Regions from separate parts of the Homo sapiens genome. Here regions 1, 2, 3, 5 and 6 are each linked to region 4. The links are contacts of gene promoters, found by promoter capture Hi-C in human tissues and cell types (Jung and others, 2019). All regions are on one chromosome and are shown on one strand. Each heading gives the region's core, a stretch centred on a gene start or on the middle of the fragment in contact. The rest is flanking DNA. Distances are from core to core; before and after follow the strand shown. Region 1 overlaps TJP3 (tight junction protein 3). Region 2 overlaps CHAF1A (chromatin assembly factor 1 subunit A). Region 3 holds the start of PLIN5 (perilipin 5). Region 4 holds the start of CREB3L3 (cAMP responsive element binding protein 3 like 3). Region 5 holds the start of ATCAY (ATCAY kinesin light chain interacting caytaxin). Region 6 holds the start of PIP5K1C (phosphatidylinositol-4-phosphate 5-kinase type 1 gamma).

Region 1 (4,116 bases), core at 1-2,500, 410 kb before region 4:
GCAGGGAGGCCCCACAGACGCTGTGCAGGCCCAGCTGGGGTTTGGGGCCTCTGTCGGGAGTTAGGGCTTGGTCAGGGATCAGGACTGTGGCCAGAGTCAAGATGGGACCTGAGACAAGGGTGTTGGACTGGAACTTGGGTGAGATGAGATTGGAGGAGCTGTTTTTTGTTGTTTGATTTGAGATGGAGTCTCATGTCACCCAGGCTGGAGTACAGTGGTGTGATCTCAGCTTGCTGCAACCTCCGCCTCCCGGGTTCAAGTGATTCTCCTGCCTCAGCCTCCCGAGTAGCTGGGACTACAGGCGAGCGCTACCAGGCCCAGCTAATTTTTGTATTTTTAGCAGAGACGAGGTTTCACCATGTTGGCCAGGCTGGGCTCAAACTCCTGACCTCAGGCGATCCACCTGCCTCAGCTTCCCAAAGTGCTGGGATTACAGGCCTGAGCCACCGCGCCCAGCCTGGAGGAGCTGTTTTGAGAATGGAGTCAGTGGGGCACGGGAGCTCACGCCCATGGTCCCAGCTACTCAGGAGGCTGAGGCAGGAGAATCACTTGAACCCGGGAGGCAGAGGTTGCAGTGAGCAGAGATTGCGCCACAGCACTCCAGCCTGGCAACAGAGACTCCTTCTCATAAAAAAGAGAGAGAGAATGGAGTCTTCTCTTGGGGCTGGAGTCAAGGTTTGGGGCTCAGCTTGGATTTGGGGGCTGAGCCTCTCAGGTGAAGGGTCAATGGATACAACCCATCCTGGAGTCAACAGAGAAGCCTCCACTGAGGCTCCAGGCTCCAGGCTCCTCGCCTTGATTTGGGACCAGAGTTTGAAGGTGGGGGGATGTCGTGGGTGGCAGCTGGGGTCCTGGCCAGGGCCAGCCGCAGCATCCACACCCACCCCACAGCTGGATGGCTCCTTGGAGGACAACCTAGACCTCCCTCACCACGGCCTGGCCGACAGCTCCGCTGACCTCAGCTGCGACAGCCGCGTTAACAGCGACTACGAGACGGACGGCGAGGGCGGCGCGTACACGGATGGCGAGGGCTACACAGACGGCGAGGGGGGGCCCTACACGGATGTGGATGATGAGCCCCCGGCTCCAGCCCTGGCCCGGTCCTCGGAGCCCGTGCAGGCAGATGAGTCCCAGAGCCCGAGGGATCGTGGGAGAATCTCGGCTCATCAGGGGGCCCAGGTGCGTCGGACATGGGGGGCAGGCCTGGGAAGGGTCTCCGGAGGGGATGCCAGCACAGAGCAGACACACACTGGGAGCCTGTTTTCTACCAGGACGTCAACAAACACGGCTTCCCTGGTCAGACTGGTTTCTGGGACTCAGACCTGGGGTAGCTGAGACCCACGTGGCACTGAGTAACTTGCAGCATTTTTTTTTTTTTTTTTTTTTTGAGACGCAGTCTTGCTCTGTCGCCTAGGCTGGAGTGCAATGGCGCAATCTTGGCTCACTGCAACCTCCACCTCCCAGGTTCAAGCGATTCTCCTGCCTCAGCCTCCTGAGTAGTTGGGATTACAGGCACCTGCCACCATGCCCGGCTAATTTTTGTATTTTTAGTAGAGACGGGGTTTCACCATTGGTCAGGCTGGTCTTGAACTCCTGACCTTGTAATCCACCCGCCTTGGCCTCCCAAAGTGCTGGGATTACAGGCATGAGCCACTGCACCCAGGCTTTTTTTTTTTTTTTTTTGAGATGGAGTTTCGCTTTTGTTGCCCAGGCTGGAGTGCGATGGCGTGATCTCGGCTCACCACAACCTCCGCCTCCCAGGTTCAAACGATTCTCCTGTCTCAGCCTCCTGAGTAGCTAGGATTACAGGCGTGCACCACCATGCCTGGCTGATTTTGTATTTTTAGTACAGACAGGGTTTCTCCATGTTGGTCAGGCTGGTCTGGAACTCCAGCCTCGGCCTCCCAAAGTGCTGGGATTACAGGTGTGAGCCACTGCACCCGGCCTTTTTTTTTTTTTTTTTTTTTTTTTTTTGAGTTAGAGTCTCGCTCTGTCACCCAGGCTGGAGTGCAGTGGCACGATCTGGGCTCACTGCAACCTCGGCCTCCTGTGTTCAAGCGTTTCTCCTCCCTCAGACTCCCAGGTAGCTGGGATTACAGGTGAGCACCACCATGCCCAGCTAATTTTTTTTTTTTTTTAAGGTATTCTTAGTAGAGACAGGGTTTCACCACGCTGGCCAGGCTGGTCTCCGATTCCTGACCTCAGGTGATCCACGTCGGCCTCTCAGAGTGTTGGGATTAGAGGCGTGAGCCACCGCACCTGGCCTCCAGCCAACATTTTAACCTCTCTGTGCACCTGTTTCCTCATCTAGGACACAGGGTGGATGGTATCAGACTTGGTGGCACAGGGCGGTGGTGAGCACTCAATGTGCTCAGCCCAAGTTTTGGCACATAGTAGTTGCGTGTCTTTTTGAACTTGACCTATCTAATTTATATATTTTATTTTTTAAATTTTAGAGATAGGGTCTTGCCCTGCTGCCCAGGCTGGAGTGCAGTAGTACAATCATAGTTCGTTGCGGCCTCCAACTCCTGAGCTAAAGGGAGCCTCTCATCTCAGCCTCCGGAGTAGCTGGGACCACAGGCGCGCACCACCACCCACACCCAGCTAATTTTTTTTCATTTTTTGCAGAGATGTGGTCTTGCTATGTTGCCCAGGCTGGTCTCTAACTCCTGGGCTCAAGTGATCCTCCTGCCTTGGCATCTCAAAGTGCTGGGAGTACAGGCGTGAACCACAGCGCCCAGCTGTAGTTGGGTGTTTAACAGTAACAAATGTGTATGTAGCTCTTAGTGTATATGCCTCAGCATCTTCTTCCACACCCTCTCTAGGTCAATGTAAAAATCTATGAATCAATGACATCTCTGATTAGAGTGATTTTCCTGGGGTTGTGCAGTACCCAACCTGCTCAACTGTCCATGGCAGGCTGCATACGGAGCAGCCACTGTACTAAGTCCTTTACGTACATGAACTCATGGCTGTGGCCCTGTGAGGACTTGCACAGATGAGAAACCCAATTCCCCTTTTGCTGACAGGCTAGGAGGTCTCAGCTAAGGCCTTCCCCTATCCCAGCCTCAGTTTTCTCATTTAGATTTGGGGATGACCTGCAGACTTGTCACGGGGTTAGCAAGTGGGCAGCATGGCCCGGGCCAAGGTGGGGGATGGGATGGAGGTGGTTATTGATCTCGACTCACCATGCTCTGGGGGGAGTTTTGAAGCTCCTCTCTCCCTCTCCTCCAAGGTGGACAGCCGCCACCCCCAGGGACAGTGGCGACAGGACAGCATGCGGTAAGAACCCCATATTCCAGATTGGGGCCCTCAACCCTTCCCTTGGGACTCAGACTCTGCGGACTCAGATCTAGATCCAAGCTATGCCTTCATGGTGCCCCTAGCCTAGTGGGGAAGACAGAGCCTGCCAGAGCCTCTCTAAGCCCCATATAATCAGGGCCAAGGGAGTAGGAATCCACTTCCTGGGAGGCCTAGGAAGGCTTCTTGAAGGGCAGGATATTGCAGCTGGGGCTTTGAGGGATGCATAGGAGTTTGTTAACAAGGCCCTACCCATGAATGCCCAGATGTGCTTATCTCTGCCCACACCCACTGTGCCTAGCACAGCCAGCCTCAGTTTATGGTGAGAAAGCTCACACCCTTCCCACCCACAGCATCTATTCTATTTCCTGATCCCCAGAACCTATGAACGGGAAGCCCTGAAGAAAAAGTTTATGCGAGTACATGATGCGGAGTCCTCCGATGAAGACGGCTATGACTGGGGTCCGGCCACTGACCTGTGACCTCTCGAAGGCTGCCAGCTGGTCCGTCCTCCTTCTCCCTCCCTGGGGCTGGGACTCAGTTTCCCATACAGAACCCACAACCTTACCTCCCTCCGCCTGGTCTTTAATAAACAGAGTATTTTCACAGCACCGGCTTCTAGTGGCTTCCAGGAAGGACAAGGTCCTCGGTCCCGTAGACCCTGATCCGAGACTTTGCCAAATGCATAAGCTTTTACTGTTTTTATATTAGGAAATCATACAGGACCAAGAACCGCTGGGGTCCTGGCCAGCCAGGGCAGGCCCAGGATGGGGCTCCGGGGCCATGGAGGCGAAGGCACAGTGGCAGGCAAGGGAT
Region 2 (4,152 bases), core at 553-3,052, 260 kb after region 4:
AAAAAAAAAAAAACAAAAAGGAAAAAGAATGGAAACCTTGAAGCCCTCTGTTCTCCCAGGAGGTTGCCATTATTATCATCATCATCACCTTGTGTTTTTCTGTGTCCTGTATATCCAGAGAGATCTCTAGGAAACACCCAGTATCATTTTGTTTCCTTGTGTATGACATATACTGTAAATATCTGTCTTTGTTACTCAAGGGTGTCTTAGATGTTTTTTATATTGGGATGGAAAGATGGAGCTCTTTTTAACAGCTGCGTGATATCCCATGGTGTGGACATGCTGTAGGTTACAGAGCTGTTTTCTCAGTTCTGCTGTTTCTGTGCTTGGCTTTCACAAAATGATTGTTCCCTTGAGCTTCCTTCTACAAGTGGCCTTGGGCTGTTAAGGAGAATGAGGTCTTGGTAGCTCAAGGCAATGCGTGCGTTCTTATTTTCCCAGCTTGCACTCTCTCATGCTTGGGCCAATTGGAGGTTTTCTCTTTTCCCCCCTGCCTCCGCTCCCCTGCTGTCAGGTTTTAGCGGCTTATCTGGTCTGGGCTTAGAAATTAGATACCCTTTAGTATAAAATCAGAGTCCATAGGCTCTGAGAGGATTATCTGAGAAAGGGTGCAGGAATTTTCATGCCCACACATAGTGAGCTCTGTCGCGACTCCTTGGGATTGTCGGTTTTTGTGTTTTGGCTTCCTTCTGGGATCCTGGATCACGTTTTTGGCAGTTGAGGGTGCTGTCTGACCGGGCTCCAGCTGGGTAGAATGTGGGAGTGTTGCATAGAATTTTGAGAGTGAGATCTATAAACACTTGGGTCAAATTTCAAGAAGATAAAGTTCTGTCAGACTTCAAGGTCCATCTGAGGGTTTGGCAAAGCAAAAAAGATACCAGTTTTAAATTAAGCAGTAATTGCTCTGTTTTGGTTGTTGGATATTACTGAGCGGGCTCTTGCCAGTCACATCAAGTCTGTTATCTCTGGACTCACAGCAGAGGGGGGGCATTGTAAGAGGCAGGAGATTCTGCAGCTGAGCTTCAGGCATGGGCAAGACTAAGGAACTGAATTCCCCGCCACCCCAAGACCACATTCCGTATTATAATCTCTGAACACAAAGGGCAGCCCCGGAGAGCTGCGGCTCCCATATTCTGCAGTTAAATCCCTCAGCGTGGGGGAGAGGCACACAGCCTTGGCAGGCAGAGTAGATGCTGGAGAGACAGATGCTTTTTCTGCAGCATTTGGTGAGGCTGCCTCGGGCTGGCATTTCTGTTGCCACATTCTCAGCAAAGACTGAACACCCTGGCCTGATCTCGGTGGTGAAAGAGCTCCTGCCAACACGGGCAGCCTTCTCACAACGGCTCGGCCTTTCCCTAAAGAAAGGTTTAGTCCAGAAAGGACTCAGTGGGACCCAGGTGGAAAGGCTGTCTTGAGCTCATTCATCTGAAGCTTTTATTCTGTGAGAGGTCCTAGTCAGGGGTTCAGCTTTCCCAGATAAAGAAATCACTGTTGGCCGGGCGCGGTGGCTCACGCCTTTAATCCCAGCACTTTGGGAGGCCGAGGCGGGCGGATCACGAGGTCAGGAGATCGAGACCATCCTGGCTAACATGGTGAAACCCCATCTCTACTAAAAATACAAAAAAATTACCCAGGCATGGTGGTGGGCACCTATAGTCCCAGCTACTGGGCAGACTGAGGCAGGAGAATCGCTTGAACCCGGGAGGCGGAGCTTGCAGTGATCCGAGATGGCGCCACTGCACTCCAGCCTGGGCGACAGAGCGAGACTCCGTCTCAAAAAAAAAAAGAAATCACTTACATAATTTTGTTGACCCCTCAGACCATTGCCAGGAAAATGGGCCTTTGGTTTTTCAGTCAACTTCAGTCTTACACTGCAAGTCTGCAATGAACCCGGAGAACTATTTCTTCCCACTCTTAAGCGTCTCTTCCCATTGCTCTTCACTTCTACTAGTTTGGTTTTCAGGATTCCCTGCCCCGGTGGGAGATAGCTTAGGCCAAAGTCCAGACTCCCTGTTCGTCTTCCTTCCTGGGACCATTTAGGTGGATGGTGAGTCACACCATGGATCCTATTGGTAATTCCTAGTAGCTCATGCTCAGTTTGAAGGTAGGTGATAGAAAATATTGTGCCCTAGAAGGTAGAAGTCCTAGAAAACCCCAGCAAGTTTCCCTTTTGTCTTAAGCTTTCACTCCACATTCTAAAAAGCAGAGTTGGCTGGGCGCGGTGGCTCACGCCTGAATTCCTAGCACTTTGGGAGGCGAGGCGGGTGGATCACCTGAGGTCAGGAGTTCGAGACCAGCCTGGCCAACATGATGAAACCCCTATCTCCACTAAAAATACAAAAATTAGCCAGGTGTGGTGGCACACGCCTATAATCCCAGCTACTCAAGAAGCTGAGGCAGGAGAATCGCTTGAACTTGGGAGGTAGAGGTTGCAGTGAGCCGAGATCGTGGCACTCGCTGCACTCCAGCCTCTGTGACAGGAGTAAGACTCCATCTCAAAAATAACATTAAAATAAAAAGCAGAGTTGAGCTAGACAGAATGTAAATTAGTGGTGCACAGGAAACCAGCCTGGAGACATGTTTTATTTGATTAATTTAGTATCTTTTTATTTTTTTTTTAGACAGTCTCACTCTGTCACCCAGGTTGGACAGCTCAGTGCAGCCTCAACCTCCCGGGCTCCTCCCACCCCAGACTCCTGGGTAGCTAGGACTACAGATGTGCACCACAACACCCGACTAACTAAAAGCTTTTTTTAGAGACAGGGTCTTGCTTTATTGCCCAGGCTGGTCTTGAACTCCTGGGCTCAAGTGATCCTCCCGCCTTGACCTCCCAAAGTGCTGGGATTACAGGCATGAGCCACTGTGCCCGTCTGTGTCCATTTTTAAACACCTAAAAAAATTCATATGAAATTCCTAATATCAGCTTCTCTTGGAGAAATTGGAAGGACCAGCAAATAGGGATCTATATTCCTGTAAGAACTCCATCTCCTTTGGACAGGCAGGTCCTCTCTCCTTTGCTACAAATCCATCCTCTCCCTGTCGCCCAGGCCAGCTGTCGCTTTTTTTTTTTTTTTTTTTTTAAGACAGAGTCTCACCCTGTTGCCCAGGCAGGAGTATGGTGGCGCAATCTCGGCTCACTGCAACCTCCTTCTCCTGGGTTCAAGCGATTCTTCTGCCTCAGCCTCCTGAGTAGGTGGGATTACAGGCACCTGCCACCACGCTCGGCTAATTTTTGTATTTTTAGTAGAGATGGGGTTTTGCCACGTTGGCCAGGCTGGTCTCGAACTCCTGACCTCAGGTGATCTGTCTGCCTCGGCCTCCCAAAGTGCTGGAATTACAGGCGTTAGCCACCGCGCCCAGCCTTGTCTGTTGCCTTTATTTCTGAGCTTGCCTTGTTTTTCTTGTGCTTGGTGTCCTTCACTCATTTCTTTATCTGCCTCCGTAGTCTCTCTTGTTATCTAATCCCAGATACACACATGTATGCACACTTACTGGAGTTTGTGACCCTATTATGACATTTTGGTTCTGTTGGTGGAAAAACTGATCACCTGGAAAGGTTTCTCTTTTTCTCGAAGCAATTGAAATAACCCGTGTTTAAAGATAAACGTCTTCTGTTTTCAGATAACTAAGAAATTCGTCAAAGGCTCTACAGAGAAGAACAAGCTCAGACTGCAAAGAGTAAGACATTTTCCCTGAAATAGAAAATTAACCTGCTGTGCTTTTTGCATTAAATAGTAAGCAAAGCCCTTTGAAGTTCCTTTGGTCTAGTTTTTACATTTTCCCCAGCCTTCTCTGACCATCATTTTGATTCCTGCTTCATTTTAAGTACTTGGACTTCATGGTTTGTGGATTGTGTCATTTTTTGGCTTGCTGAGTGAGTCCTAAGGTTTTGTGTGTGGCCTTTTCTAAGCTTTTATCAATAGTGCTACCACTGTCTTAATGGTTCAGTATCCCATTGTAGCTTCAAATTACCTTCCAAAAACCCAGTCCATTTCCTTGTAGTCCTGTCTCTTTTTTTTTTTTTTTTTTTTTTTTGAGACAGAGTCTCGCTCTGCCACCCAGGCTGGGGTGCAGTGGTGCGATCTCGGCTCACTGCAAGCTCCACCTCCCAGGTTCACGCCATTCTCCTGGCTCAGCCTCCCCAGTAGTTGG
Region 3 (4,106 bases), core at 1-2,500, 380 kb after region 4:
AATACCTTCTGTCCCTGCTCCATGGGAGGGGCAGCCCTCACCTGCTGGTCCTGCTCCCACACACTGGATCTGGGGATCTGAGCCGCCTCTTCTTCAGACATCGTGCTGCAAACAGGGTCACCCTGCGGGGCAGGATTGAGTAAGGGGAGCACCTGCCCAGGCATCAGATCCTGTCAAATTGGGCTCTGTGACTTGAGCAACTCTCAAACCTCTTGGGGCCTCAGTTTCTTCATCTGCATAATGGGGCATTCTGTGGAGCTCAGACAATGCATGTCCAGAGCTCTGTACACAGAGGGTGTCCAATAATGAGCCTCTGGCAAGGTAGGGTTGCCGGAGTGACTCGAAGCATGGTCTCTGAGGTGAGAAAGACCTGGGTTCAAATGCTACCATTAATTGCGGTGTTATTTTTATTATTTTTTTAAAGACAGAATCTCTCTCGCCCAGGCTGGAGAGCAGTGGCGCCATCCCAGCTCACTGCAATTTCCGCCTCCCAGGTTCAAGTGATTCTCCTGCTTCAGCCTCCCAGTTAGCTGGGATTACCCACGTGCCACCATGCTCGGCTAATTTTTGTATTTTTAGTAGAAACCGGGTTTCGCCATGTTGCCCAGGCTGGTCTCAAACTCCTGGGCTCAAGTGATCTGCCCACCTCGGCCTCCCAAAGTGCTGGGATTACAGGCATGAGACACTGCACCTGGCCAGCTGTGTGATTTTTGGCAAGCACCTTCACCTCTCTGGGCTGCTTCCTGTTTTGTAAGATGTGGGAGGTCCCTGCTACCCCTGCGGCCCCTGCCTGGGCCCAGAACTGCCCAAGCACCCTAGACGGCTGGAGGTGGTAGCTGCTGGGTCCCAGTCCACTCACAGCTCATTTGACAGACAGGGCAACTGAGGTACGCAGCAGGTCCATGCTGGTCCCAAGGTCACGCAGCCAGCTAGAGTTACAGGGGGGGAGCTCGACCTCGGGCCTCAGACCTGCCGCCTGCGATCCCTCCGGTTGCCACCCCGCGTCCTCTGAGGCCTGGTCCTCGCCCAACTGGGTCCTGAGCTGGGGCCAACCGGGCCAAGGGTCCCAGCCACCTGCTCTGGCCGGTCATACCCGTCCCACGCCGCCGGACCTTCGCCCAACCACCCTATCTGGAGCTCCTCTCCTAAGCCCGGGGGGGCGCTCCCGGACGCCGCCCTCAGGGCACTCACCTGGGCGCGAGCGGCTTCAGACACCAGCTGTCTCCGCCGACCCCAGGCTCGAGTCTCCACACCCCCGCCGGTCCCGCCCGCCCTTCTTATAGCTGCTCGCGCAGTGGGGGCCTCCGGAACTGACCAATGGGGAGAGGCCGTGCGGGGGCGTGCCCAGGGGGCGTGGCTCCAGGCTTCCCTCGCCCTCTCCTTGAGCTGGCCCAGTGCCCTACGGTTGCCATAGTAATTCGGGAGCGCTAGATTCAAAAGATTGAGCTATTATACGTTCCCGGACCAAGTTTGGCCACCTGTCATCCTCACTGCTGTTGCCATAGAGACAGTCCATGCGATCACAGCCCCCATAGCCCTGCTGAGTGACCTTGGCCAACTCGCTGATGACTTTTCTTATTAATTATTATTATTTATCGATTTTTGAGACTGGGTCTTGCTCGGTTGCCCAGGGCTAGAGTGCAGTGGTGTGATCATAGCTCACTGCAGCCTTGCCCTCCCAGGCTGAGGTGATCCTCCCGCCTCAGTCTCCTAAGTAGCTGGGACCACAGGCACACACCACCACCCCCAGCTAACTTTTTAAACTTTTTGTAGAGACGAGATGTCCCTGTGTTGACCAGGCTTGTCTTCAACCCCTGAGCCCCAAGTGATCCTTCCACCTCAGCCTTCCAAATTGCTGGGATTACAGGTGTGAGCCATTGCACCCAGCCTCTTTTTATTTCTTAATCTGCCCCTTAACTAAGCCAGAAGCCAGGCCTTCCCTTTCCCTAGGATCCCCATTTCACAGATGAGCAAGCTGAGGCTCAGAGATCATAAAACACTTGCCCCGCATACCACAGCAAGTGAGGGATCCTATTCCTTTTTTTTCTTTTTTTTTTTTTGAGACAGAGTCTGACTCTGTCGCCCAGGCTGGAGTGCAGTGGCGCGATCTTGACACACTGCAACCTCCGCCCCCTGGGTTCAAGTGATTCTCCTGCCTCGGCCTCCGGAGTAGCTGGGATTACAGGCGCCTGCCACCACACCTAGCTAATTTTTGTATTTTTAGTAGAGACGGGGTGTCACCATATTCGTCAGGCTGGTCTTGGACTCCTGACCTCGTGATTTGCCTGCCTTGGCCTCCCAAAGTACTAGGATTACAGGCATGAGCCACCGTGCCCGGCCAGGGATCCTATTCAAACCCAGCCCTGCTGGACCTCAGAACCCTGCCTTTTCATTGCCTTGCCTGGAATGACCACAGATGTAGGCATGGTCTTTTTATTTTTATTTTTATTTTTGAGACACAGTTTCACTCTGTCGCCCAGCCTGGAGTGCAGTGGCGTGATCTTGGCTCACTGCAACCTCCGCCTCCCAGGTTCAAGTGATTCTCCTGCCTGACCCTCCCAAGTAGCTGGTATTACAGGCACGTGCCACTGTGCCTGGCTAATTTTTGTATTTTTAGTAGAGACAGGGTTTTGCCATGTTGGCCAGTCTGGTCTCGAACTCCTGACCTCCGGTGATCTGCCTGCCTCAGCCTCCCAAAGTGTTTGGATTACAGGCATGAGCCACGGCGCCAGGCTGCATGGTCATTTTTTAGGGAGCTGGGAAAACTGGACATGCCCCCAAGCCCCAGGGTCTTCCAAATCCGATTGCAGCCCCCACATGGCCAATGCTGTATCAGCAGGTGGGCCCGGGACCCTGCTCATCCCTTCAGCCCCATCCTGCCCCTGCAACCTTGCCCGGGGGCAGGTGCCCCCTTCGATGATCTCAGGTCAGCATGACAAATCGTTTGGAGACCTGGGCAATCTGGTTTAACTTAAACCTTCTCCTAGGACACAAGCCCTGGCAGAAATCCACTGGTAAAATGACACCCGGGCAACAGTCAAGGTTTTATTTCCAGTTAGGTCCCAGGATGGGGGAAGGGAGAGGAGAAGTCACAGGCCATTGATCCCAACTGTCATCCCCTAGGGAGACCATATCCCACACCCCAGGGCCTGGGCCATGCCTCTTTTCCTCCTTCACCCTGGAGTCCTGGGAAGTTGATTTGAGAAGATGCTAGGAACACAATGAAAGCCAATTCATCCGATCCAGTTTTCAAGGGTTATTTATTAAACCCCTTGGTTCTGACCCCAAGCTAAGTGGGACTCAGCATCAGACCCTGCACTCAGAGAGCCCCCTGACTTGGGGAAGACAGAGTCAGAGAAAGGCAGCCCCAGTGTGGCCAGGGCTCAGCTGGAAGGAAGGACAAGGGGCTGGGAGAACCCAGAGTTCAAGAGATCTGGGAAACAGGGAACGGCATTCCAGACGGAGGGCACACCTTGGGCATGGGTAAGGAAAGCCCATCGTGTGTTCTAGGAAGCATGGATGGATGAAACGGGGTCCCAGCCGCTATGGACAGCCCCGAGTTTCACCTGTAAAAGGCAGGATTATTTGTTTTTAATTTTAATTTTAATTTTTTTGAGACAGTCTTGCTCTGTCGCCCAGGCTAGAGTGCAGTGGCACGATCTTGGCTCACCGCAAGCTCCGCCTCCCAAGTTCACGCCATTCTCCTGCCTCAGCCTCCCGAGTTGCTGGGACTACAGGTGCCCACCACCACGCCTGGCTAATTTTTTATATTTTTAGTAGAGACAGGGTTTCACCATGTTAGCCAAGATGGTCTCGATCTCCTGACCTCGTGATCCGCCCACCTGGGCCTCCCAAAGTGCTGGGATTACAGGCGTGAGCCCCCGCACCCGGCCAAAGGCAGGATTATTTGTTAAGCGGGTTGCAGTGTTCTACCAGACCCCCCACCCTCAACCCAAGCCCCTGGTCTCACTGGGACTTGGCCACTGCCAGGAGCGTCTGGCCCTTCACGGCTTCAGGCCCAGCACAGCGCGTGTCATTCTGGGAAAACATCTTGTCTTTTTGGGCCTGAAGCCAACGATAGAGGTCGCTCAGGTTCTGGTCACAGA
Region 4 (4,176 bases), core at 1,052-3,551:
CCTGGGCGACAGAGCGAGACTCTGTCTTGAGAAAGAAAGAAAGAAAGAGAGAAAGAAAGATAGAGAGAGAAAAGAGAAAAAAAGAGAGAGGAAAGAAGGAAGGAAGGAGGGAGGGAGGGAGGGAGAGAAGGAAGGAAGGAAGGAAGGAAAGGAAGGAAGGAAGGGGAAGGGAACCAGGATGTGAATTTTTTTAGAGCAAGGAGGGCACATAAATTACCCCTCTCAACCTAGCACATGGCACAGTGTCCAGCAAACAGAAAGCTTGATTTAGTCTCCTATTTGCTAAACTTCCAACAGTGCCCTGCTGTTTAGCACAAACCAAACTCCTTGCCACAACACACAGGGCTTTGCACGACCTGCCCCGTCCCCTCCCTGCCTTCCCCTCCTCCCTGCCTTCCCCTCCTCCCTGTCTTCCTCTCCTGCCTGTCTTCCTCTCCTCACTCTGCTCCAGCCACAGGGGTCTCATTGCTGTTCCTCCAATGCGCTAGGCACGGACCTGCCTCAGGGCCTTTGCACAAACTGTGCCTCTGCCTGGGACACCTTTCCCCAGACCTTCCCAGGGCCAGTTCCATCTCATCCTTCAGGACTGCACTGAACATGTCATTTTTTTTTTTTTTGAGACAGAGTCTCACTGTCGCCCAGGTTGGAGTGCAGTGGTGTGATCTCAGCTCACTGCAACCTCCGCCTCCTGGGTTCAAGTGATTCTCCTGCTTCGGCCTCCCGAGTACTGGTATTGCAGGCATGTGCTACCACACCCATCTAATTTTTATATTTTTAGTACAGATGGGGTTTCACCATGTTGGCCAGGTTGGTCTCAAACTCTTGACCTCAGGTGATCCACCCACCTCGGCCTCCCAAAGTGCTGGCATTACAGATGTGAGCCACCACGCTTGGTCTAATATGTCATCTGCTAAAGGGGGACTTTGCCTGGGCACAGTGGCTCATGCCTGTAAATCCAGCACTTTGGGAGGCTGAAGCAGGTGGATCATTTGAGCCCAGGAGTTTGAGACCATACTGGCCAACACAGTAAGACCCCATCTCTATAAAAAAAAAAAAACAAAATTAGCCAGGTGTGGTGGTGCACGCCTGCAGTCCTAGCTACTTGGGAGGCTGAGACGGGAGGATCACTTGAACCCAGGAGTTGGAGGCTGCAGTGAGCTATGATCCTGCCACTGCACTCCAGCCTGGGCAATAGAGTGAGACCCTGTCCTCCACCAACACCAAAAAAAAAAACAAAAAAACAAAACAGGGCTCCTCTCTCTTGGTAGGGGGTGGAGGGGAGGTCAGAGACACCTCTCAGCCACCCGGGCTGATTCACAAATATCGAACATTCACTAAAATGTCAATACAGTGACCTAGAGCCAGAGGGGAAGAGGGAGGGTACAAGAGGAGAGTTCCAGGCAGAGGGGCGAGCAGGTGAGTAGGTGCAAAGGCCCTAAGCAGGAACCAGTTTGGCTCCATAAATATTTGTTGACTCAATGAACGATAGAAGATTCTAGAGAGAATTGATTGCACAGAATCACCCATGGGGACTCAGAGGCGGAGTCCAAGCTGGTTTCGGAGGGGGCTGGGGGCCGGAGGTTGGCAGGTGGGGTGAAGGATGGGAGCCGCTAGCTGCTGGCAGGAAAACTGGCTTCAGTGAAGATCTGGTCTGGTCCTCTTGGTTTGTTTCTGTCCAGGGAGTGGACAGGACCCATGTAAGGGCCCTGGGCTATCCCAGAACCCATCTGGGAATTCTGAAGAGAAAAAGTCCTGTAACTGGCCGGGTGCGGTGGCTCACGCCTGTAATCCCCGCACTTTGGGAGACTGAGGGGCCGATCACGAGGTCAGGAGTTCGAGACCAGCCTGGAAAACATGATGAAACCTCGTCTCTACTAAAAATACAAAAGTTAGCCGGGCATGGTGATGGGGACCTGTAGTCCCAGCTACTCGGGAGGCTGAGGCAGGAGAATCACTTGAACCCAAGAGGCAGAGGTTGCAGTGAGCCGAAATGAGATGGCACCACTGCACTCCAGCTTGGGCCACAGAGCGAGACTCCGTCTCAAAAAAGAAAGAAAAAAAGAAAAAGTCCTCATAAGTAGGGCAGAGGTCACGGCAGAGTGGAGGTACCCCAGACTTCGACCTTTGCTCACTGAGGGCTGGAAAACCACAAAACACCCAGATAACGGTCTTCCCTCCCCTGCTCCTGCCTGCCCCAGTGTCACTGGCCCTCAACCCTGTCTCTCCACCCTGTCCACCAATCAGCACCTGGAGGTGGGCTGGGAGCTGCCTGTGACCGCTTCAGCATCTTTTGGGAGTGGTGACAGAGCCACAGAGGGCTGTGAGCTTGCCCGGCCCCAGGTAACGCTGGCGGTGGGTGGGCCTCCAGCTTGGAGCAGAGACCCCCCGAGGCATCTGCAGACAGAACTGGATGGACCCATGAATACGGATTTAGCTGCTGGAAAGGTGAGCCCTACTAGGTCCCCAGGGAGAGCGGGAGTCTAGGCTGGGAAAGCCTACCCAAGCTGCCAGAGCTGGAAGGACCCCATCTCCACCCCTATTGTACAGATGGGAAGACTGAGGCCCAGAGAAAGGATGCAATGAGCAAAACTGTGTGCCTTTGCCCCGGGGCTGCCCTTGTCTTTCTTCCAGGTCCCCCTGCCTCCTAGGAGCGGGCACTTGGGGAGGCTGTGAAGGCCTGAGAGGCAAGCGGCATCTCTAGCTAGGGCCTCTCTCCAGCACTTTTTATTTTATTTTATTTTATTTTTATTTTTATTTTTTGAGATGGAGTCTCCCTCTGTCACCCAGGCTAGAGTGCAATGGCACGATCTCAGCTCACTGCAACTTCCACCTCCTGGGTTCAAGAGATCTTCCTGCCTCAGCCTCCCAAGTAGTTGGGATTACAGGTGTGCACCACCACGCCCGGCTAATTTTTGTACTTTTCCTAGAGACAGGGTTTCACCATGTTGGCTAGGCTGGTCTCAAACTCCTGACTTCAGGTGAGCTGCCCGCCTCGGCTTCCCAGAGTGCTGGGATTACAGATGTGAGCCACCGTGCCTGCCATACTTTTTTGTTTTTTGAAACAAGGTCTTGCTCTGTGACCCAGGGTGGAGTGCAGTGGGGTGGCCATAGCTCACTGCAGCCTCAACCTCCTGGGTTCAAGGGATCCTCCTACCTCAGCCTCCCCAGTAGCTGGGACGACAAGTGTGTGCCACCGCAGCCAGCTAATTTTTTTAAATTATTTGCAGTAGGGATAGGGGTCTCTATGTTGCGCAGGCTGGTCTTGAACTCCTGGGCTCAAGTGATCCTCCTGCCCCGGCCTCCCAAAGTGCTGAGATTACAGGCATGAGCCACCACATCCAGCCTCTCCAGCACTTTAAGAGAAATTGGCTCTCACACTGTGGAATTCTCTCTATCAGCCTCAAAGTCCAGATTTGGAAAGGGAGTCTCAGCGAGGGGCAGCAGCTGGCCCAACCCGGAGGCAGAGCGGCAACTGAACTCTAGCCGGAAAGAGCCAGGGTTATGTGCACATGGGAGGTGGGGAGGACAGGGGCTGTATGTGACCCTCACATCTGTTCCTCGCGCCCCAGATGGCTTCTGCTGCCTGCTCCATGGACCCCATCGACAGCTTTGAGCTCCTGGATCTCCTGTTTGACCGGCAGGACGGCATCCTGAGACACGTGGAGCTGGGCGAGGGCTGGGGTCACGTCAAGGACCAGGTGAGGAGTCCACTGCAGTTGCCCCGGGACCACAGAGCTCCAGGCGGGCCAACTGAGGCCCCACGAAGGTGCTAGACCCGCCAGAGCCCAGCCAGAGCTCTGCTCAGCTCTACGATGCACTAATGGGTCACGGTGCTTGATTTTAGCCAAGCACATCATTTAGCGGGTAGCATCAGCTCCTTCTTACAGGTGGGGAATGGAGGCCCAGAGCAGGGTGGAAACTCATCCAAAGTCACACAGCAATTTGGAGTTAGGTTCAAACTCAAACTTGGGGCATCTCCCTGGCTAGGTTCGGTTCTCTTCTCCTTCCTCTCCTTCCTTTCTCTCTTTCTTCTTCTTTTTTTTTTTTTTGAAGGAGTCTCGCTCTGTTGCCCAGGCTGGAGTGCAGTGGTGCCATCTCGGCTCACTGCAACCTCTGCCTCCCGGGTTCAAGCGATTCTCTTGCCTCAGCCTCCCAAGTAGCTGGGATTACAGGCGC
Region 5 (4,636 bases), core at 993-3,492, 270 kb before region 4:
AGCCTCTGCTCTTCGAAAATGTATATTCTGGCCAGGTGCGGTGGCTCACGCCTGTAATCCCAACACTTTGGGAGGCCAAGGTGGGCAGGTTGCCTGAGGTCAGGAGTTTAAGACCAGCCTGGCCAACATGGTGAAACCCCGTTTCTACCAAAAATAAAAAAAATAGCTGGGTGTGGTGGTGCATGCCTGTAGTCCCAGATGCTTGGGAGGCTGAGGCATGAGAATCGCTTGAACCTGAGAGGAGGAGGAGGTTGCGGTGAGCTGAGATCACACCACTGCACTCCAGCCTGGGAAACAGAGCAAGTCTCTGTCTCAAAACAAAACAAAACAAAACAAAACCCAGTATATTCTAATAAGGAGGAGCAGAGAATCAACAACAACAACAAAAAAGTGTAAATAATTTCAATTAATAGTAAGTGCTGTGGGTCAGGCACGGTGGCTCACACCTATAATCCCAACATTTTTCGAGGCTGAGATGAGAGGCTCACTTGAGCCCAAGAATTCAAGACCAGCCTGGGCAATAGAGAGATACCCTATTTCTACAAAAATTACACAGATTAGCAGGGCGTGGTGGTAGGAGCCTGTAGTCTCAACCACTGGAGAGAAAGAGGTGTAAGGATCACCTGAGCCCGGGAGTTCAAGACTGCAGCGAGCTGTGATTGTGCCATTGCACTCCAGCCTGGATGACAGGGAAAACTCCTGTTTCTTAAAAAAATAAGTAAATAAAATAAACATTAAAAACAGCAATAGCAAGAAATACATATAGGCCGAGCACAGTGATTCGCACCTCTAATCCCAGCACTTTGGGAGGCCAAGGTGGGCGGATCACCTGAAGTCAGGAGTTCGAGACCAGCCTGGCCAACATGTTGAAACCCCGCCTCTACTAAAAATACAAAAAAAAAATTAGCCAGGTGTGGTGGTGTGTGCCTGTAATCCCAGCTACTTGGGAGGCTGAGGGAGGAGAACCACTTGAACCTGGGAGTCGGAGGTTGCAGTGAGCCAAGATCGCACCACTGTACTCCAGCCTGGCAACAGAGCGAGACTCCACCTAAAAAAAAAAAAAAAAGAAAGAAAGAAAGAAAGAAAGAAAGAAAGAAAGAAAGAAAGAAAGAAAGAAAGAAAGAGAAAGAAACACATAGGGAGCTTTTCTTGTGCCCCAGCACTGTGTTTAGTGCTGTCTATGCATTATCTCATAATGTGGAAAAGCCATAGCGGCTCCATTTCACAGATGAGAAAAACTGAGGCCCGCAGGTGAGATCACTCATGCCCACTGGTCTGCCAGCTGGGGAGTGGCTGGGCTAGAGTTCAAACCCACTTCCAGTCCGACTGCACGGCCTGCACTCTCCACCCTACCATCTTCCACAGTCTCCTTGAATTCCTCCAGGGCGAGGCCACGCCAGCGCACAACTGCAGGGGGCGCCGTTCCCACAGCAGCCCTGCAAAGTGAGTGTGCCTGAGAAACTTCCGCCTCCCCTGCACCCAGCCCTGTTTAGGGCACGAGGCTGAATCAATGGTAAGTGACCATCTAATGGACCCACAACACGGTGACCTGGGGACAGTCATTTCTTTCTTTTTTTTTTTTTTTCTTTGAGACAGAGTCTCCCTCTGCCGCCCAGGCTGCAGTGCAGTGGCGCCATCTCGGCTCACTGCAACCTCCGCCTCCCAGGTTCAAGCGATTCTCCTGCCTCAGCCTCCCGAGTAGCTGGGATTACAGGCGCACGCCACCACGCCTGGCTAATTTTTGTATTTTCAGTAGAAACGGGGTTTCACCATGTTGGCCAGGCTGGTATCGAACTCCTGACTTCAGGTGATCCTCCCTCCTCGGCCTCCGAAAGTGCTGGGATTACAGGCGTGAGCCATGGCATCCGACCTGGGGACAGTCATTTCTTTGCCTGCACAGACTTTTTGGGGGATGCCACCCCTCACCCCTGCTCCCTTTGCAAGGAGAAGTGCCAAGAAGACCTTTCCCAACTCCCCCACCCCCCATTCTCTAAGGAATGAGGCCATCTTGCCATTTATTTATTTATTTGTCCGTTGTTTTGTTTTTAAATCTCTGATGCGCCATCAGAAAATTATTTCTGCCTCTGCCCCTGGCGTGGCTTTCGGAGATGCTTGTCTGTCAGCCAATGGGGAGGATCGGATTCTGGCAGGGGGCTGTGCTTTTCCGTCAGGCCGCCACCCCCCACCCCCTCCTCCCTGCACACAAAAGCAGCATAAATTAACCGTCTTCGGGAAGCCGAGCCTCTGCCAGCCCTGAGCTGGGAAGAAGCAGCTACCTCGGAGGCAGGGCGCGCAGGCGGGCGGCGATGAGAGGGGGCGCAGCCGCAGCCCCGCGCTGGGGAGCCCACCGCTAACCCTGCACCCCACCCACCCCTGCACAAAAGAGCTGGCGGGCGCTGGCCACGTCGCCCTGGGTGACCTTCCTCGGATGCAGAATCCGCCCCTGCGAGCATCCTCTTCCTCCTAGGCTCTGAAGGCCCGGGGAGCGTGAGCGATGCCCAGCTGCACCCGGGCAGGGCTCGCCTTTGTTTGCCAGTAAGGAGGAGAGGCTGTCTCAGCTGCAGAGGTGAGTGCGCGCATCTCCCCTTCTCCCAGGATAAACCGTCTCCCTGGAAGGTTTATCCGGCAGCCTTTGCCGCCTCTAAATCCCTTTCCAGCAGATGGGGCGGGTGGGAGCAGAGAGCCACGGTCTTGTGACTCCGTGAAGGCCCTCACATCCCTGTTCCCGGTACCAGGGAAAACCGTTCCCTGAGCTGCGCCCAGCAACACAGTTTACCTTCCGCGCGCACCGTTCCCCTCTAAGTGCACCATTTTCAGGACACGCTGAGAGCTCGGGCGGATGAAAACCTCAGCTTCTCTCTGGGACGCTGAAATAGACCCATCCTAGCCCTATGTATTTCCTATTTATAACGCTAGGAAGGCCACCAGCCGACGATTTCGGGAAAAAAAAAAAAAAAAAATCTAAGTGTGTCGATAAAGGCTGTCCTGTGGGGTGGGGAGGAAGGGGGTGGTTTATGGTTTAAGACACAGATGCCTCCTCCTTATTGGAACTCGTATGTGATTTGTTAATAATCAGACATCAGGGCTCAAATGAGCGCTTCACTCCCGTTCCTTGATGTCACTGTCTTCTTTTGGCCGTCCCCAAATGCGAAGCCAGGATCTGAGTGCAGGAGTGTCCGGGGCCCACTGAGGACCCACCCCACCCCATCCTTAGAAGACTGTGGAGTCAACGCCTGTGGCTGCAGCTGGCAGGGGGTGGGGGTCGGGGGCGGGGCTGGTGGGAGTGTTCCTGGGGGCTGAGGTCACACCCAGCTCAGTATAAGGAAGGGAGAGGCGAAGACCCCTTCCTCCGGAGAGCAAATGCGTTTCTACTGCCGAGGAGAACTTACCCTCGCGGGAAGGGCCTGGCTGGCTGCTGCCACCGCCCCCCCCCCGACCCCATAGCATCCAGGAGGGATTTTTTTTTTTTCCATGCTGCGTGTTACTGTCCCTCCTCCAAGCATGAATGACGACATTGAGGACAGAGAATCGAGTGAGAAACGCTCACCCTGTACGGGGGAGGGTCTAGTTTTAGCCGTCCCCTCCCCCCACTTCCTCATCTGGCTGAGGCTGCCTCTGGGTCCTTCCTTGCTAAGCCACAGTCCCCTGTCCCCGATGCAAACCCGATATCTATGCTGGGGGGCTGCAGGTAACCTACTCCACAGAGAGGCAGCCTGGATGCCATGAGAGTTGGGGGCCTTAGATGCTTCATGTATTTGGTTTTTTTGAGACAGGGTCTTGCTATCTTGCCCGGGCTGGTCTTAACCTCCTGTGCTCAGGCGATCCTCGCAAAGTGCTGGGATTACACGTGTGAGCCACTGCCCCCAGCCAGATGCTTTATCTTTTATTTTATTTTTTGAAGTAGGGTCTCTGTTGCTCAGGCTGGAAAGCAGTGGCATGATCATAGCTCACTGCAGTCTCGACCTCCTGGTCTCAAGCGATCCTCCAACTTCAGCCTCCTGAATAGCTGGGACTTCAGGCACCAGGCACCCATCACCATGTTTGGTTAATTTTTGTATTTTTTTTTTTTTAAGAGATGGGGACTTGCTATGTTGCCCAGGCTGGTCTTGACCTTCCAGGCTCAAGCGATCCTCCTATCTCAGCCTCCCAAAGTGCTGGGGATTACAGGTGTGAGCCACCGCACCAGCCAGATGCCTTATTTTATTTTATTTTATTTTCTGAAATAGAACCTCACTCTGTTGCTCAGGCTGGAATGTGGTGGCACAATCATACCTCACTGCAGCCTCCACCTCCTGGGCTCAGGCAATCCTCCCACCTCAGCCTCCTGAACAGCTGTGACTTCAGGCACCCACCAAATTTAATTAATTTTTGTTTTTGTTTTTGCTTTTCGTAGAGATGGTGTCTTGCTATGTTGCCCAGGCTGGTCTTGACCTTCTGGGCTCAATCCTCCCACCTCAGCCTCCTGAATAGCTAAGACCTCAGGCACCCACCATTGTGCTTGGTTAGTTTTTGTATTTTTTTTTTGAGAGATGGGGTCTTGCTGTGTTGCCCAGGCTGGTCTCGAACCCCTGGTCTCAAGTGATCTGCCCAAAGTGCTGGAATTCCAGGCATGCACCACTGCACCCAGCCCCTAGAC
Region 6 (4,311 bases), core at 1,739-4,238, 450 kb before region 4:
ACCGGGGAGGACCGAGCTGGACCAGGGAGGACCAAGCTGGACCCGGGAGGACCAAGCTGGACCCGGGAGAGGCAGAGGACAGGGAAGGAGTCAGTGGGTTCTGGGCCAGTTCTGAAGGTGAAGCTGCCATCATTTGCTGCCAGATCAGCCGTGGAAGTGGGGCAGGGGCAGGGATGCAGCTGACCTTTCCAGGGCATCACAGAGACAGATCAGCCGTGGGAGTGGGGCAGGGGCAGGGATGGAGCTGACCGTTCTGGGGCATCACAGAGACAGGACAGCCTGGGAGAGGCTCAGACACGCCCAGGCCACAGCTCAGACCAAACTCCACCACAGGCCATCGGCCCACACAGTGGGCACAGCCGCATCCCAAGCCCCGGCCTTCCCGAGACCGCCCCCACGTGCCCCACGGCCACGGCCCATGGAGACGCCATTCAGGCCACGCCTCGGGAGCCAGGAGCCCAGGCAATTAGAGGAACCAAATTCTAAACACCAACGAGACATTGCTTTGCCTCCCATCGGATCAGCCGAAATCGCCAAGGACGATGACACTGGGAGCTGGCAGTGCCGTGGGAAACGGGCAGCCTCCCTCGGCCCCTGTCGGACAAGGCTCCCGCTGTAGCTGAGCTTTCTGGAAGGTGTCGCCATCGCTTCTAACAGTGAGCGGTGACTCCAGAAACCACGGGCATGGGCCTCAGCAGGGGCCTGGAGGCACCGATGGTGGAGAGGCCGGAAAGGGGTGGCCAACCGGCACGACAATCACCAAGCACGAGCGCCAACTCATCCCAGGCTCAGCCCCTAGCACACACGGTCATCACCCCACTTCACAGACGGGACGCTGAAGCCCGGGGAAGTGACGGCCACACAGCACCTGAAGCGCGGAGCTGGGAGGGGGACATCGGCGGGACCAACTCTGGGGCTCCCCCTTAACCACTGCCTGGCGCTCGCCCTCTCTACAAACCGATACCAACATAGGGTGGGGAGACTCCAGATGACCAGAGATAAAAAGCAAGCAGTTCACAGAGTCATAAACGTGTGGCATTTCTCACCAGGGCCGTCCTGCCCCCAGGGGACACTGAACGGTGTCTGGGTCACTTGTGGCTGTCACAACTGGCAGGTGCTCCTGGCATGGAGTGGGCAGAAGCCAGGGGCGTTGCTCAGCACCCCTAATTTCCTGACTCAAAATACCTCTGCCAAGGCACAGAAGCCCCAGTGAGGCATGAAACCATCTCGGTGAAGAACAAGCAGGCCCCTTTATGTGCTCACGTCTCTGTGGCCCAGCCAGGCACAACCTAAACTCACCAGCGCTAACATCAGGAGGGATGGCGTTGGAGGAGTGAGGCAACTCTGAATTTTAAACATTCAGAAGCAGTATATGGCCAGCTGGGGTCAGATTTCTGTGGATTTCAGGGATGGGCAGAGATGCCAGACCCTGACCTTCCAGCCCTCCCCGGCCCCCCACCCCCACCCCCCCACTCCCCCGCTCTCCCACCCCACCACCATGCTCAGTCTGGAGCTGGCAACTTTATCTGTCCCCGGTGCTCCCAGAGCCCCTGATAAGATGAATGGTCGCGGTGTGGTTTTCTTTTGGTCAGCGAGTCCTGGGCTACTTTGTCTCTGACCAGCTGGGGTCAGAGGGCTGACAGCGGAAGTTGGGGGGCCCAAGAAAGGAACCCGGGCTGGGGCCTGGTGCCCTGCCTGGGTTCCTCCACCATGTCTCTTGCTGGCCAGGCCAGGACACCGGCTGCCCGCAAAGAAAGGGGCGAGGCCACTGGCTCTGGGGAAGGAACCGGGTCACCTACCAAGCGGTTCCAGATGGCCGCCGGGAGGGAAGCCACGAGTGTCTTTCAAGGCGGGGGGTGGGGGGGGGACTTGATGACTTCCACACTCTCTCTCTCTCCAGACATCTCCCCAACTCCCAGGCAGCACGCATCGCCCGCCCGCCCGCTTGCCCGCCTGCCAACCAAGGAAGCTTCGGGAGGCCTGGGGGGAGAAGGAGGACGGATGCCCGTGTGGGTGTCTACAGAGACGCTGCTGCTGGCTGCCTGGGAGGAGCAGAGGATTTTGTGAATCCGGAAACTTCCGATTTGGGAGCTTGTGACCTCGACTGAGAAGGAACTGTTCCCTTCCTCTGGGCTCTGCACACCGTCCCCACAGAAGGGAAGGCCCAGCTGCCGCCACCTACCCGGCTGGAGGTCCAGGAAGCAGCTAAAGGGGGCATGAGACAGCCGTGCCCCCCGCCCAGCCCGCAGCCCCACCAGTGTGTCCTGGGGGAAGGCTCGGGGAGAGGAAAAGGGGGCGACAGGGCACCCTGTGTGCACAGCCGGGGCGGTGGAGGCATCTTGAGATGTAACCCTTTTCCTCCCCTCATTTTAGCAGGGAGGTAAACTGAGGCCCAGGAAGGTGAGGAAAGGTCGCGCACCCGGACTCAGGTCTGGGGACTTACAGAAAGGGAGGTGACATCAGGAGGTGGGCACGCACGGCCTCAGAGACCCCCGCCTCCACCCAAGCAGCCGCCACTCACACGACGGGCAGCCCCTGGGAGCGGGTCAGGCAGAACGGGGATCCCCAGCGGCGCCCACGCCGAGTCGCCCCCGGCCCGGGAGCGGTGGGAGGTAGCCCCTCGCAGGCCTCCCGCTTCCCGGCGCGGCTTCAGCCCCGTCCTCCCCGCGGCTCCAGGGGACTGCCCCGCCCCAGGCTCCTGGAACCGGCGGCGCCCCCGCAGCGACCGTGCAGCCCCCGCCCCGGCCCCGCAGCCCCGCGACTCTCGGCGCTCGGACGAGCCCAGCGGGCCGCAGCCCCGGGAGGCCGGGCCGTTACCTGCCGCCGCCCCGCTCTCTGCCGCCCACGCCGCCTCCGAGGGCACGGCCCCCGCCTCAGCGCTCTCCGCCTCGTCCGGTACCTCCAGCTCCATGGCCGCGCGCGGACGGCGGCGGGGGCGCCCGAGGGGGACCCGAGCTGCGACCGCCGCCGCCGAACAACAAGCGCCGCCGGCCAAGGGAGGGCGCGCCGGGCCGGCGCGGGGCGGACGGGGCGGGGCCTGCGTGCGTGCGACGCCGCGGACGGCGCGCGGCCAATCGGGGCTCGGGGGCGGGGCCTGCTTGCGACCCGCAGCCAGGAGCGCCTCGAGTGCCCCCTCGCGCCCAGGGGTGGGAGTACAGAGCCAGGCTCGCCATTCCATCGTATTAGGTCAGTAAGATTGACAGGCACGATACGTATCAATAACATTGCTGTGCACAACACATACCAATAACATGGATCTACACAACACATGACAATAATATGGATCTATACAGCACGTGCCAATAATATGGATGTACACAGCACATGCCAATAACATGGATCTAAACAGCACATGCCAATAACAGGGACCTGCACAGCGCATGACAATAACATGGATCTGGCCGGGCGCGGTGACTCACGCCTATATTCCCGGCACTTTGGGAGGCCGAAGAGGGCGGATCACCTGAGGTCAGGAGTTCAAGACCATCCTGACCAACATGGTGAAATCCTGTCTCTACTAAAAATACAAAAAATAGCTGGGCGTGGTGGCACATGCCTGTAATCGCGGCTACTCGGGAGGCTGAGGCAGGAGAATCGCTGGAACCCAGGAGGGAGAGGTTGCAGTGAGCTGAGATCGCACCATTGCCCTCCAGCCTGGGCCACAGAGTGAGACTCTGTCCCAAAAAAAACCACACATGGACCTACACAGCACATGCCAATAACATGGAGTTACCCAATGCATGCCAATAACATGGATATACACAATACATGCCAATAACACGGATATGCACAATACATGCCAATAACATGGATATACACAATACATGCCAATAACATGAATCTATACTATATCATTGACATGGATCTACATAAAACATACAAATAGCATTGCTATATGCAATACATGCCAATCACATTGCTATACACAATGAATACCAATAACATTGATCTACACAATACATGTAACTAACATTGATACACACACTACATGTCAATAACATTGATATACACACTACATGCCAATAACATGGATATACACACTACATGCCAATAACATTGATATACACACTACATGCCAATAACATTAATGTACACACTACATGTCAATAACATTGATATACACACTACATGTCAATAACATTGATATGCACAAAATATACCAATAACAGTGATATACACAGTACATGTAAATAATATTGATCTACACAGGGCCGGGCGCGGTGGCTCATGCCTGTAATCCCAAGACTTTGGGAGGCCGAGGCGGGCGGATCACGAGGTCAGGAGATTGAGACCATCCTGGTTAACATGGTG

Evidence for each region. Contacts are between HindIII fragments. The study calls those that stand out against the background at their distance.
Region 1: a fragment that was not itself captured here is called in contact with the fragment with the promoter of CREB3L3 in region 4 in 2 of the 25 tissues and cell types used here (dorsolateral prefrontal cortex and lymphoblastoid cells).
Region 2: a contact is called between a fragment that was not itself captured here and the fragment with the promoter of CREB3L3 in region 4, in 3 of the 25 tissues and cell types used here (aorta, dorsolateral prefrontal cortex and spleen).
Region 3: a contact is called between the fragment with the promoter of PLIN5 here and the fragment with the promoter of CREB3L3 in region 4, in 2 of the 25 tissues and cell types used here (dorsolateral prefrontal cortex and spleen).
Region 5: the fragment with the promoter of ATCAY here is called in contact with the fragment with the promoter of CREB3L3 in region 4 in 10 of the 25 tissues and cell types used here (adrenal gland, dorsolateral prefrontal cortex, hippocampus and 7 more).
Region 6: a contact is called between the fragment with the promoter of PIP5K1C here and the fragment with the promoter of CREB3L3 in region 4, in 2 of the 25 tissues and cell types used here (lymphoblastoid cells and small bowel).

What each region holds. Positions count from the first base shown.
Region 1 is chr19:3,746,903-3,751,018 of GRCh38, forward strand. TJP3 (tight junction protein 3) reads left to right here. Exons shown (of 21, transcript NM_001267560.2): 19 at 892-1,179; 20 at 3,236-3,282; 21 at 3,680-3,911. The coding sequence ends at 3,782. APBA3 (amyloid beta precursor protein binding family A member 3) reads right to left here. Exons shown (of 11, transcript NM_004886.4): 11 at 3,870-4,116. Among named protein-coding and RNA genes, the nearest start is that of APBA3, 13 kb to the right of the region's middle. The HindIII fragment of the contact is 8,254 bases long and covers 1-4,116 here.
Region 2 is chr19:4,414,399-4,418,550 of GRCh38, forward strand. It overlaps CHAF1A (chromatin assembly factor 1 subunit A), which reads left to right. Exons shown (of 15, transcript NM_005483.3): 4 at 3,622-3,678. Among named protein-coding and RNA genes, the nearest start is that of CHAF1A, 14 kb to the left of the region's middle. The HindIII fragment of the contact is 3,051 bases long and covers 278-3,328 here.
Region 3 is chr19:4,533,974-4,538,079 of GRCh38, forward strand. PLIN5 (perilipin 5) reads right to left here and starts at 1,251. Exons shown (of 8, transcript NM_001013706.3): 1 at 1,192-1,251; 2 at 42-122. The coding sequence starts at 101. LRG1 (leucine rich alpha-2-glycoprotein 1) reads right to left here. Exons shown (of 2, transcript NM_052972.3): 2 at 2,429-4,106. The coding sequence ends at 3,967. RefSeq lists an enhancer at 402-957. The HindIII fragment of the contact is 58,476 bases long and covers 1-4,106 here.
Region 4 is chr19:4,151,330-4,155,505 of GRCh38, forward strand. It overlaps CREB3L3 (cAMP responsive element binding protein 3 like 3), which reads left to right and starts at 2,302. Exons shown (of 10, transcript NM_032607.3): 1 at 2,302-2,445; 2 at 3,570-3,698. The coding sequence starts at 2,419. The HindIII fragment of the contact is 37,156 bases long and covers 1-4,176 here.
Region 5 is chr19:3,878,443-3,883,078 of GRCh38, forward strand. ATCAY (ATCAY kinesin light chain interacting caytaxin) reads left to right here and starts at 2,243. Exons shown (of 13, transcript NM_033064.5): 1 at 2,243-2,566. RefSeq lists an enhancer at 1,918-2,448. The HindIII fragment of the contact is 15,458 bases long and covers 1-4,636 here.
Region 6 is chr19:3,697,480-3,701,790 of GRCh38, forward strand. PIP5K1C (phosphatidylinositol-4-phosphate 5-kinase type 1 gamma) reads right to left here and starts at 2,989. Exons shown (of 18, transcript NM_012398.3): 1 at 2,818-2,989. The coding sequence starts at 2,911. RefSeq lists an enhancer at 2,046-2,829 and silencers at 2,528-2,667, 2,748-3,237. The HindIII fragment of the contact is 9,003 bases long and covers 1-4,311 here.